Regions from separate parts of the Homo sapiens genome. Here all the other regions are linked to region 2. Evidence: promoter capture Hi-C in human tissues and cell types (Jung and others, 2019). All regions are on one chromosome and are shown on one strand. Each heading gives the region's core, a stretch centred on a gene start or on the middle of the fragment in contact. The rest is flanking DNA. Distances are from core to core; before and after follow the strand shown.

Evidence for each region. The method cuts DNA at HindIII sites, captures the fragments that hold promoters and counts their contacts. A contact is called where the count stands out against the background at its distance.
Region 1: a fragment that was not itself captured here is called in contact with the fragment with the promoter of AKAP8 in region 2 in 2 of the 25 tissues and cell types used here (H1 embryonic stem cells and spleen).
Region 3: the fragment with the promoter of CYP4F22 here is called in contact with the fragment with the promoter of AKAP8 in region 2 in 1 of the 25 tissues and cell types used here (adrenal gland).
Region 4: a contact is called between a fragment that was not itself captured here and the fragment with the promoter of AKAP8 in region 2, in 1 of the 25 tissues and cell types used here (pancreas).

The regions. Positions count from the first base shown.
Region 1 is chr19:15,188,485-15,191,184 of GRCh38, reverse strand. NOTCH3 (notch receptor 3) reads left to right here. Exons shown (of 33, transcript NM_000435.3): 7 at 1,757-1,912; 8 at 2,011-2,196. Among named protein-coding and RNA genes, the nearest start is that of MIR6795, 10 kb to the right of the region's middle. The HindIII fragment of the contact is 6,552 bases long and covers 1-2,700 here.
Region 2 is chr19:15,376,857-15,381,220 of GRCh38, reverse strand. It overlaps AKAP8 (A-kinase anchoring protein 8), which reads left to right and starts at 1,434. Exons shown (of 14, transcript NM_005858.4): 1 at 1,434-1,508; 2 at 4,207-4,245. The coding sequence starts at 1,490. It overlaps AKAP8L (A-kinase anchoring protein 8 like), which reads left to right. Exons shown (of 14, transcript NM_014371.4): 13 at 609-704; 14 at 791-1,171. The coding sequence ends at 1,099. RefSeq lists silencers at 809-1,298, 1,639-2,188 and enhancers at 463-1,377, 1,149-1,443, 1,378-2,293. The HindIII fragment of the contact is 19,214 bases long and covers 1-4,364 here.
Region 3 is chr19:15,505,819-15,510,010 of GRCh38, reverse strand. It overlaps CYP4F22 (cytochrome P450 family 4 subfamily F member 22), which reads right to left and starts at 1,486. Exons shown (of 14, transcript NM_173483.4): 1 at 1,428-1,486. RefSeq lists an enhancer at 1,342-1,842. The HindIII fragment of the contact is 20,579 bases long and covers 1-4,192 here.
Region 4 is chr19:15,149,842-15,153,733 of GRCh38, reverse strand. No RefSeq gene overlaps it. Among named protein-coding and RNA genes, the nearest start is that of HACL2, 26 kb to the right of the region's middle. The HindIII fragment of the contact is 9,854 bases long and covers 1-3,892 here.

The DNA of each region.
Region 1 (2,700 bases), core at 201-2,700, 190 kb after region 2:
GTGCACACCTGTAATCCAAGTCTCTCAGGAGGCTAAGGCACGAGAGTAGCTTGAACCCAGGAGGTGGAGATTGCAGTGAGCCAAGATTGCACCACTGCACTCTAGCCTGGGTGACAGAGTGAGACTCCTTCTCAAATTTAAAAAATAAAAAAAAGATTATGCTAGGCCGGGCACAGTGGCTCATGCCTGTAATCCCAGCACTTTGGGAGGCCAAGATGGGAGGATCGCTTGGGCCCAGGACTTTGAGACCAGCCTGGACAACATAGTGAGTTTTTGTCATCTCTACAAAAACTTGGTAGGCTGGGTGTGGTGGCTCACGCCTGTAACCCCAACACATTGGGAGGCCCAGGCGGGTAGATTGCTTGAGCTCAGCAGTTTGAGACCAGCCTGGGCAACATGGCAAAACCCTATCTCTACCAAAAATACAAAAAATTAGCTGGGCATGGTAGCGCATGCCTGTAGTCCCAGCTACTCTGGATGCTAAGGTTGAAGGATGGCTTGAGCCCAGAAGGTGGAGGTTGCAGTGAGCTGAGACTGAGCCACTGCGTTCCAGCCTGGGAGACAGTGTAAGACCGTGTATAACAAAAAAGAGAGAGAAAAAAAGATGATGCTGGAGGCAGCTTTAGTGGGGAAGTGTAAGCCTGGGAGAGGCTTGGGAGGAGGCTGACATTGCACTGATGCATGGCTCAGGGCAGAAGCCATTGGAATGGGGAACTCCTGGGAGTTACCTTTGGAAGTGGCAAAGATCAGAGAACATGTTTAGGAGGGGAACGTGGATATAGAAAGAGGGCATACATGGCAGAGGGTATTACAGAAGCAAAGGCTGGAGTGTAGGACCCTTTTGTAATCAGAAGAGTCAAAAGGTTTTAAAACAATATGTGGATGTTTGCAATTTATTTTATTTTATTTTTGAGACAGAGTCTCACTTTGTCACCCAGGCTGGAGTACAGTGGCATGATCTCAGCTCACTGCAGCCTCGACTTCCTGGGCTCAAGTGATCCTCCCACCTCAGTCCCCCAAGTAGCTGGGATTACAGGCGTGCGCCACCATGCCCGGCTAAGCTTTGTATTTTTTGTAGAGACGGGTCTCACTATATTGCCCAGGCTGGTCTTGAACTCTTGAACTCAAGCGATGCACTCACCTTGGCCTCCCAAAGTGCTAGGATTATAGACGTGAGCCACTGTGCCCGGTCTGCAATTTATTTTTAAATGGTTTAGAAAAGAAGATTGGTAGATTAAGCTAACAATAGTTGAATCTAGGTGGTGGGTATATGAATGGTCAACTTTTCTGTATGTTTGATAGTTCTCATAATAAATGGATTAAAAAAGCAGCTACTAAATACTGTTTAGGTTTAATAAAAACAACAGGCCGGGCGCGGTGGCTCACGCCTGTAATCCCAGCACTTTGGGAGGCTGAGGCAGGCAGATCACCTGAGGTCAGGAGTTTGAGACCAACCTGGCTAACTTGGTGAAACCCCGTTTCTACTAAAAATACAAAAAATTAGCCGGGCGTGGTGGCACATGCCTGTAATCCCAGCTACTCGGGAGGCTGAGCAGGAGAATCGCTTGAACCTGGGAGGTGGAGGTTACAGTGAGCCAAGATCGCGCTATTGTACTCCAGCTTGGGCAACAAGAGCGAAACTTCGTCTCAAAAAACAAAACAAAACAACAACAACGACAAAACAATACTCAAGGGGTGTGGGCCTTTTGGGCAGAGCAGGAAGATCTGCCTATGACTTCTGCTTACCACTTCCCAGGCCTCCTGTGTCACCTGGATGACGCCTGTGTCAGCAACCCCTGCCACGAGGATGCTATCTGTGACACAAATCCGGTGAACGGCCGGGCCATTTGCACCTGTCCTCCCGGCTTCACGGGTGGGGCATGTGACCAGGATGTGGACGAGTGCTCTATCGGTGAGGGGAGCTCCATCGTCTGTGAATGGGCTGGGAAAGAGGGGAGAGGAGGGGGTCCCGGCCAGCCACGCCCACACCGATCGCACTCCATCCGGCAGGCGCCAACCCCTGCGAGCACTTGGGCAGGTGCGTGAACACGCAGGGCTCCTTCCTGTGCCAGTGCGGTCGTGGCTACACTGGACCTCGCTGTGAGACCGATGTCAACGAGTGTCTGTCGGGGCCCTGCCGAAACCAGGCCACGTGCCTCGACCGCATAGGCCAGTTCACCTGTATCTGTATGGCAGGTGGGTGGTGGGCGTGGCCTGGGCGGGTCCTGAGGCAGGGGGCGGGGACAGAGAAGCCCGCGGATGGGGAGCTGAGCAGAATGGGGTGTAAGTGGGTTTGGAGTGGGACCCTTAGAGACTGAAGCCTGGAAGGAGGTGGGGTCAGGACCAGAAGGGAATACTGTGTGATTCTGGGGGCTTGGTCAAATGGAGTCAGTAGAACCTCAGGTGGGCTGGGAGTATTCTTGGCCTTAGGACCCACTCGGGAAGGGGTTGGGGATAGAGAGGCAGAGTCGGGGCTGCTGTGAGGTCAAGGTGAAGCCTGCAGACAAGCTTGCAGTAAGCCTGGGCAAAGGCTATGGGGGGCCCTGGGGCTGGGGGCTGGGGACTGGGGAAAGGGCTTAGTCTGAGGACTGGGGAGAGGAGGAGGGGTTTGAAGGCAAGGCCTCTGCGGACACCCATGAGCCTTGGGCCAGTTGGGACCACGGCTGGGTGACAGTCCAGCCTGTGGCTGAAAATTAAGGT
Region 2 (4,364 bases), core at 185-2,684:
AAATTTAGGATACGTTCTGGGAAGGGATTAATGAGACAGATTTTTACTTTTCATACATTGTGTCAAACTGCTTTCCAAAAAATACGGAAACAGTTGATCCTCCCACCAGCAGAGAAGACTCTCTTCACCCTTGCATGACTGGGAATAATTCTTCATTCTTGGAATTCTGTGGGTTAAAAAAGACGTTTCATTAAATATCTGTTCCTGTTTTTATATCTTCCCCGTTGGCCCCAAAGTGCTCCTTGCCTATTAGCCTAGTTGGCACCTTGTTACAGGTTGCACCCACCTTTGGCTCTTAGTTTCTTAATTGTTCACTGCTTATAGCTTTTTTGTAAGCAAATCAGATTTCTGTAATACAGCCGTAAAGTTAGAGATATATAGATCTGTATTTTTATTTACCTACAGTAAGTGTGGTGTGGAAGGAGAGGGAATTTGAACAAAGATCAGATAGGTTGTGGTTCCATGCTTGTGGAGTGGCCCTCCGTTGGTGGGGCTGGAAGTGCGTGGGTGCAGGGGCGGGGTGGGGTCCCTCTAAGCTGGCAGGGTCGGGGCAGCAACTTGTAGGGCACTCAGAGCAGCCTCTCCAGCTCCTTCTGCCCTGCCCGCAGCTCATGATGGAGCAGTCCAAGAAGTCCTCCCTCATGGTGGCCCGCAGTATTCTCAACAACAAGCTCATCAGCAAGAAGCTGGAGCGCTACCTGAAGGTGAGGCACTGGTCCGGGCCTGCCCTGTCCCCAGCTTAGTCCCCGCCTGTGCTCCCTCCCTTCAGTGTCCGCGCCCCTCCCCACAGGGCGAGAACCCTTTCACCGACAGCCCCGAGGAGGAGAAGGAGCAGGAGGAGGCTGAGGGCGGTGCCCTGGACGAGGGGGCGCAGGGCGAAGCGGCAGGGATCTCGGAGGGCGCAGAGGGCGTGCCGGCGCAGCCTCCCGTGCCCCCAGAGCCAGCCCCCGGGGCCGTGTCGCCGCCACCGCCGCCGCCCCCAGAGGAGGAGGAGGAGGGCGCCGTGCCCTTGCTGGGAGGGGCGCTGCAACGCCAGATCCGCGGCATCCCGGGCCTCGACGTGGAGGACGACGAGGAGGGCGGCGGGGGCGCCCCGTGACCCGAGCTCGGGGCGGGCGGAGCCCGCGTGGCCGAAGCTGGAAACCAAACCTAATAAAGTTTTCCCATCCCACCTCCGGGTTTCTCTGTTACTGTGCCGCGCGGGCGGGGCGGGGTGGGCAGAGGGGCGGGGTGCGCATGCGCGCGGGCCGGGCCGTCGGGCACCGCGGTGGGACCACAACTCCCATTAGGCCACGGAGCTGGATCGTAGCAGCCCGAAAGGCCAGCTGGGACGGCGAGGGCGGGCCCTCGTGAAGACCAGCCAATGGGGGCGCGCGGAAGTAGTGACGTGTGCGCCTGGTCTTCCAGTAGTCGATGGCGGAGGTGCGCTGAACGCATGCGTGCTGTGGTCGCCTAGTAAACGGGGCTGCTGGTGGGCCGCGTCGAAGACATGGACCAGGGCTACGGAGGTTTGTGTTGGCTGCTGGGTGCGGAGCGGGGAGGGAAGGCTCTGTGCGGGCGACGCAGCCGCTGCGCAGACTGCCGCCGGCCGGGCCTTCGTCCCGAGCGTGGTTGCCCCAGCTGGGCCCTCCGGAGAGGCGGCCAGGGCGCGCGCGCGCCGCTCATTGGGCTTTGGCGCCGTCGCTCCCGGGGCTCTGCGTGCGGATTGGCCGCCAGGCCCCGAGGAGGCGGGCGGGACTCGGGGTTGGGGCAGACGCCGCGGTGGGCTTCGTGGGGGCGTCTTAGACAGTGTGGGCCGTTTTTGCCCCTCACCTTCGGCGGAGTCCTTCCGGCCCCCAGCGACCCCGGGGTTTGCACTCCCGGCTTCCTCTTCCGAAGACGCCACAAAATGGCGGCGCTAGGGGGGCGGAGCTACAGCGTGGGGTTGTGAGGTCGGACCCGGGGAGCTGGGTCTGGGGCCGCGGGCGGACCGCGGGGGCCGCCTCTCTCCCGACCTGCCCTAGGCCCGCGGGGCCGTGTAGGGTCTCCGCTGGGCTCACGTGGCCCAGGGCGCCTGTCCCGGAAGCCGTCGGGCTGCGCGGGGTCGGGCCTTTAGTCCCCGGTGCAGCGCGGTGGGGCCGAGTGCTGCCGGCGCGAGAGTCAGCCTCGCCGGGCTCCAGCTCTGTACCCGGCGCGTGCTGGCTTGGGACAGGATGGTGAGGGGCAGATGCTGAGTGTTCGTATAAAGCTGGAAACCTGATGTGCCCTGGGGCTGGTGACATTGGCAGTTCTCCTTTAGGCAGTCTGTTGTGGTGGCCTGGAGGGGCCGAGGGGCTGTGCAGGAGGGAACGTGTCCTTTCCCCACTAGGATTTAGCGCTTGGCCTGCAGTAGGGCCGATCTTCTCGAGCTGCCTGCTCCCTGCTTCTGGAATCAGAGCCTTTTGGGAGCAAAGTTTGCCCACAGGGGATAGTTGGGACATGCTGGGTGGAGCTCGACTGGTTGTAGAGAAGCTAGTGGTCTGATCCTGGCTGCAGGAGCTCGAGAAGTTGTCGATCTTGAGAAGTGGCAGGGCAAAAGTATCCCAGCACCAGAAATTGCAGAGAGAGGTTTCGGTCCTGAGGCGGCAGCGTGCGCGGTGTGCTTTGGTGTCTTCCGGGTCCTAGCGAAGGCTCAGCCTGGCTCTCCTGGTCTTCCGCAGCCTGGGTAGATTTCACCATTCTTTCCCTTCTTTCCCATCAGATCTTTTCTGCAGGTATTGTATTCCTTCTTTTCATTCTTAGTTTGGAGAGGTTTTTTTTACCCCCTCTTCCTACCTGCCGAAAACCTTTCAGACACACTGGAGATAGTTAAGCTTCCCTGATTTCTTGTGTTTCCGGGAGCGTTTTAAGGTTAATAGTGCGTGCCACTTACACTAGAGCTTCACAGAGAAGCAGTCTCTCGAGGTTGGTTACTTGCTGTTGGAATCTGCAGTCTGCCTTTCTGCTGCACGGATGCGAATTTAGAAGGTTTTGCGGTATGACGGAGGGGAAGGCGTAGCATAGCAGAGGGCAAAACTCAGCAGTATGACTGGGTCAAGTCTCGTAACCCATGAGCCTAGCTCCCTTGTCTCTGAATGGCATTCCGGACAACAGGGTTTGCTGGGTGCTTGCGGTGTATCGGCACGCACTAGGCACTTAGCCGGGGGCGGGGGAGTTGTTCTGGTGAGGGAGACATGGATATGTTCCTGCCTCATCAAAGTGAAGTCATTTAACAGGCATGGTGGCCACCCGCGCGCAGCTCAGTGCTGGGCCCCAGGGACACAGAAATAAAGAGAACACAGTTCCCATTCTCCTTCCTGGAGGGACCAGACAGATGCCATAGTGGGCGGGGGGTGTGGAGGGGTGAAGAGTGCTGTCTGATGCCTTAGGGCCAGGCGAAGGCTCTGGGACTTAAAGGTCCAGGGGATCCGTGGAGGCCTTAAAAGTGGCAGGAAGGGCCTGGCGCGGTGACTCACGCCTGTAATCCCAGCACTTTGGGAGGCCGAGGCTGGCGGATCACGAGGTCAGGAGATCGAGACCATCCTGGCTAACATGGTGAAACCCCGTCTCTACTAAAAACACAAAAAATTAGGCGGGCGTGGTGGCAGGCGCCTGTAGTCCCAGCTACTCGGGAGGCTGAGGCAGGAGAATGGCGTGAACCCAGGAGGCGGAGCTTGCAGTGAGCCGAGATCGCGGCACTGCGCTCTAACCTGGGCAACAGAGCAAGACCCCGCCTCAAAAAAACAAAAAGTGGCAGGAAGTGCAGCTTAGAAAGATGCAATTTATGTCACTAAATTCCCATGCTTGTTTTCAGTTACGAAGTACTTGTGATGGCACTCTGAACTGGTTTCCTAGCTGTGTGGTGGGTGGGGGAACGTGTCCTCATGCTGAGTGGATTGTCTTGTGTTAGCCTCAGTTGTGGATGAAATCTTGGAGAGGTGAGGTCCTTGGCCAAGGTCCCTCTGCAGGGCGGAGCTGACTTCCAAGCCCACTTCCCACCCTTCTTTTTCTGCTTTGATCTCAGCCAGGTGGAATGCGATGACGCCATTAGCCAGTTGTGTGATGGCTTTTTTTTGGTGGGGTGGGGGGGAGTCTTCCTTCTTCTAAGGCTGGCACTGAACTGTAAGGAGATCCCTTTAGGAGTACCCCCAAAAGGACCCGTTCTCTGGTGTGACAAATAGAATTTTAACTCACGGGGTCTTCTTGCAGGCTACGGGGCGTGGAGTGCTGGACCTGCCAACACCCAGGGTAAGTGGGCTCTGCTTTGCGGGTGAGGCGTGGGCTTCCCCTAACTCAAGGCCCTAGCATGGCAGAGCTGAACTTGGGTCAAGGGAGAGTAGTAGCCCAGGGGTCAGCAAACTTTGTGT
Region 3 (4,192 bases), core at 237-2,736, 130 kb before region 2:
GACCCTGTCTCAACAACAACAACAAAAAAAGAAAGAAAGAAAGAAAGAGAGAGAGACAGAGAAAAGAAAGAAAGAAAGAAAGAAAGAAGGAAGGAAAGAAAGAAAGGAAGGAAGGAAGGAAGGAAGGAAGGAAGGAAGGAAGGAAGGAAGGAAGGAGAGATGGGTCCCATTCCCTGAATGCCTCTCAAGTCATCCAAGCCCCTCTGCAGATACCAACCTGGGTCACCGCCAGACACCAGGCCAGAGTTAATGTTACTGTTCAGAAACCCAAGCTGGGCCATTTGGTGATGCCGGGGACATCGGAAAGTGGACTGAGGCTTTGGGGTCAAACAGGGCTTGTTTTTTCAAATCCCAGCTCTCCCACTGGGCACTGGGTATCCACAGGCACAGGCTTCTTCTCTCTGGCCCTCAGTTTCCGTGCCTGTAAAATGAGGGTGGTAGGGAAGATTTGGGGAGGTTCCTTCTCTTTGGGGTTTGGAGTTACACAAGAAGGAGTTTGATGCTGCCAGCCCTGGCTGGGCACAGCTCCAGGACCTAGAAATAAGGGGTGGAGCAAGGGGCACAGGGTAGGAGGAATTTCGGGTACGCAGCCAGCCCTGGCCATCTCCTTTGCCTACAGGGCGGTGAGACTCACAATGAGTGCATGAATGAGCTGTGAGCGGGCAGATGAACCAGGAGAGATGCCCTGAGCCTAGGCCTCTCCAGCCTGCGACTCCCCAGGTGGCCAGCCTCGGCCAACTTGCATACCCAGGCTGGGCCAGGCCCCTGGGAGGCCAGAAAACATCTTCCTTCCAGCATCTATCAGACGAAGATCACCTGGGACCAACCCCAGGACCTCACACAACCCTCAGAGCCAACTCTCGGGGCCAGAAGAACACCGTCTTTTCATAGAGGGGCTCTGCGTCTGGCATGGATGGGCAGAGGGTTCCTGATAGCAGTTGAACCACAAGCCTAACCCCATCGGTTGAATGTACTACAACCTCCCCGTCAAGACAACGTGCAGTGGTGAAATCTCAGGGCGAATCCCCATTCAGCCCCAAAGAGGCGTCCCAGGGCGGGGCTTGAACCCATCTGGGATGTCCTGACTACCAGAGGGGTCTTTTGGAGGCCCCCTGCCCATCACAGATACCCAGAGAAAAGGATGCGCCTAGGACTCCGAGGCGCACACAGAAAAAAAAAAAAAGAAAACAACTCACAAATGCAGCAAACGTCGGGGACACACCCACGTGCCCCTCTCCCCACGAGTGCCCCGGGCATGCAGCCCCGTCCTGGGTCCTGGGGGGGTCCCCGTGGCCGGCTGCGCCCCGCCCGCCGCCGCGCGCAGACCTTCGCCCTTGCCCCGCCAGCACCGAACCGCGCGAGCCTCGGGTTCCAGCGCAGCGCCGCGGCCGCGCTCAGGTTACAGCCCTCACCACGCGCGCACTCACCCGCGGGTCTCAGCCTCCTGCCCTCGATCCGGATCCACCGGCGCCACTACCTGGGATCTGACCGCGCCGTCCCACGGCCCAACCCTTTAACCCCGCCCGGCCGTGCCGAGGGGTCCGCCCCCGGACATCCCGCCCCGGGCTCCCGCAGGGTTCTGGGCGGGGACTCCAGCGCTGCCCCCTAGAAAAGGAGAGAACAAGAAATAGGCGTGTGGAGGGGTGGAGAGCGATGGAAAGAGAGAGAGACTGAGACTGAGATGGAGAGATGAAGAGAGACAGAGACTTGGACACCTAGAAGTCCCAAACCATCAGGCTCCCCGCCCTCCTGCCACTGCTGGGCCGCATTAGCGCCCAAGTCCCGCTCTGGACCACACTCCTCCCACACCAACACCCCCCATGGCCCTTACTTCCAGGTTTGCTCCCAAGCTTGGACAGCGATCTCTAAACCATCACCCCCTGGGGCCCCACTGACCCCCCCGAGAAGCCTCCTCTGGGGCCCTCAGGAATTCTCTGGCTCCACCAGCCCTTGGGAACCAGCCCTTCCCCTCTCTCTGGATCCTGGGCCTAAGCTTCCCCGGCACCCACCCCTGGAGGCTCTGCAGCCTCTTCCTCCAGGAAGACCTCCAACCTCAACAAGCAGCACCAGACTGGTTCTGCTCCCCGCCAACCCGCCCTCCGCCACTCCTCCCCACCCACTGCCAGACACCTTGACCCTCTGACCAGGATGTTGTCCTTGGCCAACCCGTCTACTCCAGATGTGTGGAGACAGAGTCAGCTCCGCCTCTGGATGTGTCTGTCCTCCGGAGTCGGTGGGTGGATGTGTGGCTGACCTTAGCACGTGGGCAGACAGATGAGAAGACAAGAATCTCCACTTGCCCCAGCAGGTGGTAAACTTAGAAGACTTCCTTATCCCTCTTTTTTCTAAGAATACGCTCTCATTTGGTGCTGGGCCCTTGGAAAGAGGGCGTGGGAGGTGTGGGGCATGTCTCCTGGTGAAGAAGAGGAGACACAAGTAATTGAAGTTTTGCTGCTTGGAGGAGGCAGACATGAGGTCAGGGAAGGCGACGTGGAGGATGTGACACTTGAGCTGGGACTGCATGGAGAGGTTGGATTTCAACAAGTGCAGGAGAGGGGGTAGAGCTCAAGCACAGAGAAACTGGAGGGTGTGACTTAGCAGATGGCTTTCCCTGGCCTTGGAGTGTGAGAGGTGTGGAGGCTGGAGGGATGCAGGAGTTGACTGTGAAGGCCAGTTTGAATGGCTGGATCTTGATCTGGTGGGCAGTGGGGAGCCATGGATGGTGCTTGAGTAGGGGAGGTGCCCCCTGTTAGTTGATTGGTCTCACTCTGTCATCCAGGCTGGGGTGACTCCTGGGCTCAAGCCATCCTCCTGCCTCAGCCTCCTGGGTAGTTGGGACTACAGACACGTGCCACCACACCCAGCTAATTTTTTTTTTTCATTTTTTTAGAGACAGGGTCTCACTATGTTGCCCAGGCTGGTCTCAAACTCCTGGGCTCAAGCCATTCTCCCAGCTCCTAGAACTTTTAAAAAAAAATATTTATATTTATTTGTGTCTTTAATCTTTTTTACTTCTGAGGAAGAGCTTATTTTATTAATTTTTTATTCATAATTAACGCAGCATGAAAGCCTATTTTTTAGGGATATGAATTTTGTTTTGCCAGTAATTCTGGCCAAGGGGGAGCTTACTAGAAGCACTTTGGAAAATGCAGAGATCCACATAGAGTGAAGTTTGAGAGGGACCCCTCCAGTGGCTGCAGGGGACAGAGACAAAGGGTGGGGGTAGCTGAGACCCAGGAAGGGGTTAAGGATGAGGTCCCGGAGGTCATCTCCACTGACCACTGGCTAAATACGGGGTTCTAGGGAAGAGAGAAGGAAAAGAAGCCATCTGCCTGGCTTCTCTGCTCTCAAAGAGCTGGAGACCAGGAAGGAGGAGTAAGTGAAAGGGCCTGGAGCACTAAGAGTGGGCTTCGTGGATGTGTGGCCTTGAGCTAGTCACATGGCTGCTCTGAGCCTCCATCTCCCTATGCATAAAATGCAGAAGAAGCCCATGTGATGAGGTGGTGTTCAGCCCCACTCCTGGCACAGGGCACAGGCTGGACAAACATCAGCTGTTTGAGTTTGCAGTTGATTGGGGCCATCCCAGCAGAGTAGAGTTTTCCGCCAGGGAATGTTTAGCAACATCAGGAGATCATACTGCTGGGTGGGGGGTAGAGGTGGGGGTGGGGGAATTCAGGGTGGTGCAACTGACATCTAGTGGGTGAAGGCCAGAGATATTATTCAACATCCAGAACACCCCCACCCCCAAAGAATAATCCAGGCTCAAATGTTGACAGTGCTAAGATTGGGAAACCGTGGGTCACCTTCAGTCTAAAAGTCTCGTGGGTCTCATGGGATGACATTCAGGGAGACATCCAGGAGGCAGTTGGGCTCAGCGTGAGGGCACCTCCTGAGAATTGCATCTGTGAGTCACCTGCCTTGGGAAGACGGTGGATGGCATGGCAGTAGGTCAGCGAGATCACTCAGGAGGGAGGTGGGCAGAGAAGAGGAGGGGAGGGCAGAAGTGGGGATCACAGCCACTTTTTTTTTTTTTTTAAGATGGAGTCTCACTCTGTTGCTCTGTTGTCCAGGCTGGATACAGTGGCACAATCTTGGCTCACTGTAACCTCCGCCTCCCGGGGTCAAGCGATTCTCCTGCCTCAGCCTCCCGAGTAGCTGAGACTACAGGTGCCCACCACCAAGCCCGGCTAAT
Region 4 (3,892 bases), core at 1,289-3,788, 230 kb after region 2:
TCACAGGCTAACAGGAGACACAGAGGAACACAGACAATATGAAGAGACAACCCAGGACTTCTGGTAGCCCAGATACTGCATATGACTAGCTTGGGGGTTCTTACAGAAGGCTTCCTGGAGAAGGTGATGCTGGTGGTGTGTTTTTAGTAAAAGTAGGAGTGAGTGTTGTTATGAGTGGAGCAATGGCTGTATTTAGTAGTAGAGGAGGTGGCAGGGGTCATATCACAACAGTCTTGGATGTGAAGATGGAGGGATTTTAAACTTTGAAAGCAATGGGGAGCCATGGAAGGTGCTTGCGTAGAGGAGGAGCACAGCTTGAGTTTTCTGTCCTGGGGTCAGTGCAGAGGTCAGACTGGAGGGAGTTGACACTGCAGGTTCTTGCAACAGGTAAGAATAATGCAGTCCTGAGTTGGGGTGGAGGTGAGGGGATAGAGAGAATTTTGGGAGGAAGAATGCTGATTTGGTAATTAATGGTCTAGGGAAGGAGGGATGGAGAAGGCTGAGGTCACCAAGAGATGTTAAACCTGGGCAACATTGGTAGAACAACATCAAATGATCCACTCCTTCCTCCCTCTCTTGAGGGCAGGGCCTGGGGGTGCATTTCCTCAGGAAGCAGCCTTGCCTAGCGCAGGTGGGTACTAGGAGCATGAATGAATGCTCTGCCATTCATTAATGAATTTCTGCTTGTTATCCACAAAAAGAAATAGTAATTAGTCCTTTTCCCGCTCTGTGCATGCAGGGTCTGTGGGCTTAGGAAGCTGACCCAGGGGTCTTGAGTTTCCTGGAGGGAAAATCCCCTCAGGGTGCCACCTGCCTGAGCTCCGTGGGACTTCTTAGTGTTCAGGGGGCCTGTGGGATGGCAGCTCTGGGGACCCTCAGCATAACAGGAGCTGTGTCCTCAGCCCCTCCCTTTTTAGGTGGTGAACAGAGCGATGCCAGCAGGCACTGCAGGAGCCTCCCTTGGCAATGGTGAGTGTGAATTCAGAGGCTTTTCCTGGCTGAAGGAGCCACCCCGGCCCATCCCTGGCCTTAAGGTTCAGATCTACAAATAAGTGGGGAGAGAGAGAAACTGTAGAGGGACTATGCTAACCCAGAAAAGGCTAAGCAGTGACACACTTGAATGGAGTTTCCCAGAAAGGTGTTCGATCTGTTTTTTGCCAACTACAAAGCATGGGCTGGAGAAGAATATAAGATTTTCCCAGAAAGGCAAGGAGGCGCATCTGGGGGAACCAAAAGAGACCCTTGAAAAGTCACACACATGCAGACACTGCATCATGGTGTGAACAGGTGTGCAAGCAGACAGGGAAGATATGGGGTGTGGACACGCATGTGCCCTAGAGTCTCATGAGTGCGCGCGCACACACACACACACAGAGTCATTTAGGGTGGGGCTGAAAGGGGCGGAGAAGGGCCTTTGGGGGTCTTCCTGATGAGAAGAAAGAGGAAAAGGAAAGACTCCAGACCCCAGTCCCATGCATTCCTCAGCTTCCCGGCTCCAGACAGCTCTCAGGAGTGTCACCTGGTCCCCTCTCCCCTGCACTGTGGAGGTGGCATTGGCTTGGTCCTTGAACTCAGCACCAACTGGTTCCCTGTAACTCTCTCACTAAGCAAGCAACCAGCCTGGGCGCTCTCAATGGGTGCAATTTTCATGGGTTCCAGGTAGGCAAATAAGGAATATTCTACTCCTGTGAATTGACCTCTTTTTGGGTCAGGCCTGGAATCTGGACACATTGCAGCAAACTCAGTCACAGCTCCTCAGCTGTTGCAGAGTTAATGTTCAGCCACATTTGGGATTTCCTCCTTTCTTCTTCCTTCTGTCTGGGGTGGGTGCAGGGGGTTGGGGCAGACGCCACCTCCAAGATGAGAGCGGAGAGGGGCCAGGTTGTCGGTTTGAGAGCTCTAGACACTGTGGGTCCCCACCCCCAGCAATCCTGAGATGGACAGAGTCCTCGCTGAACTCCAGCTGGGCTGGCCCTGCCCCTATCCCCCAGTGTGACTCTGCCAGCTCCTCCACCAGCTCTTTCTTTGAGCCTATTTCTGTTTTTAAAACAATAAATTTTTTTTTTTTTTGAGACAGAGTCTCACGCTTGTTGCCCAGGCTGGAGTGCAATGGTGCGATCTCAGCTCACTACAAACTCCGCCTCCTGGGTTCAAGTGATTCTCCTGCTTCAGCCTCCCAAGTAGCTGGGATTACAGGTGTGTGCCACCACACCCGGCTAATTTTTGTATTTTTGGTAGAGACGAGGTTCCACTATGATGGACAGGCTGGTCTTGAACTCCTGACCTCAGGTGATCCACCCACCTTGGCTTCCCAAAGTGCTGGGATTACAGGCGTGAGTCACTATGCCCAGCCAAAAAAAATTTTTAATTAAAAATATTTAAATATTTGTTCAATGAATACATGAATGAATGGAAATGGTTAAGGTTTTTTTTTTTTCTTTTGAGACAAGATCTCGCTGTGTTGCCCAGGCTGGAGTGTAGTGGCATGATCACAGCTCACTGCAGCCTCAACCTCCTAGGCTCAAGCAGTTCTTCCACCTCAGCCTCCAAAGTAGCGGGGACCACAGGAGCACACCACTGCACCTGACTTATTTGTTTATTTATTTAATTTTTTTGAGATGGAGTCTCACTCTCTTGCCCAGGTTGGAGTGTAGTGCCATAATCTCAGCTCACCGCAACCTCCGCCTCCCGGGTTGAAGCGATTCTCCTGCCTTAGCCTCCCAAGTAGCTGGGATTACAGGCATGTGCCACCACACCCAGCTAATTTTTGTATTTTTAGTAGAGACAGGGTTTCACCATGTTGGCCAGGCTGGTCTTGAACACCTGATCTCAAGTGATCTGCCTGCCTTGGCCTCCCAAAGTGCTGGGATTACAGGCATGAGTCACCATGCCCGGCCTGTCTCTAAACTCACTTCTAACCCATCAAAAAATTCATTGGGCTTCACCTTCACAACCCATCCAGATGGGCAAGTCCTCACCACCTCCATGTGCCCACCATGGCAAGCCCACTTCCAATGGCCCACGTGGTCCACACTGATCCCATTATCATCGGCCTGGACCAGCCTAGTCACCTCTTAACCTGCTGTGTCCAATGCCTCACGCACAGTTTTCCCATAGCCACCAGAGGGCGTCTGGGAACACCTGAGCCTGGGGATGTCCCTCTTCTGCTTAGACCCCTCCATAGTCCCACCTCATTAGGAGTAAATGCCAAGTCCTCCCCTTGATCTACAAGGCCTACACAACATCCCTCTGTCCCCTCCCTGTGCTTACCTGCTCCCTCTCCCTCACTGTCTCTCCCTCACTATTCCTCCTTGCTGCTCCTGTACCAGGCATGGTGCAGCCACAGGGTGTTGCCTCTACCTGGAATGCTCTCCTCCGTCTTGACTCATTCCCTCATTCTTTTTCAATTGTGAATTTGGGGTCTTTGCCTGGCTGGAGAAGCCACGCTGATCCATCTCTAGCCTAGAGCTGAGATCAGAAAATTGGGGCAGTCAAGGAAGGAGAAATTGGAATGCTCTCCTCCGTCTTGACTCATTCCCTCATTCTTTTTCAATTGTGAATTCGGGGTCTTTGCCTGGCTGGAGAAGCCACGCTGATCCATCTCTAGCCTAGAGCTGAGATCAGAAAATTGGGGCAGTCGAGGAAGGAGAAATTCTGAGCTGACCGTGATTAAACATCAACAAGGACTTTTCTGACCATCCCATTAACAATGGCAACTCTCCCCTGATTTCTCAATTCTCCCTTTAGGTCCTCTTTTCTGTTTCTAGCACTTAGCTCTGATGTAACTCACTTGTTGAGTTATCCTGTTTGTGGCTGATTGCGCGGCTGCCTCCCTTAGTACCTTCTGCTCCTCCAGGGCAGGTATCTCTGCCCATTTAGTTCCCTGCTGTGT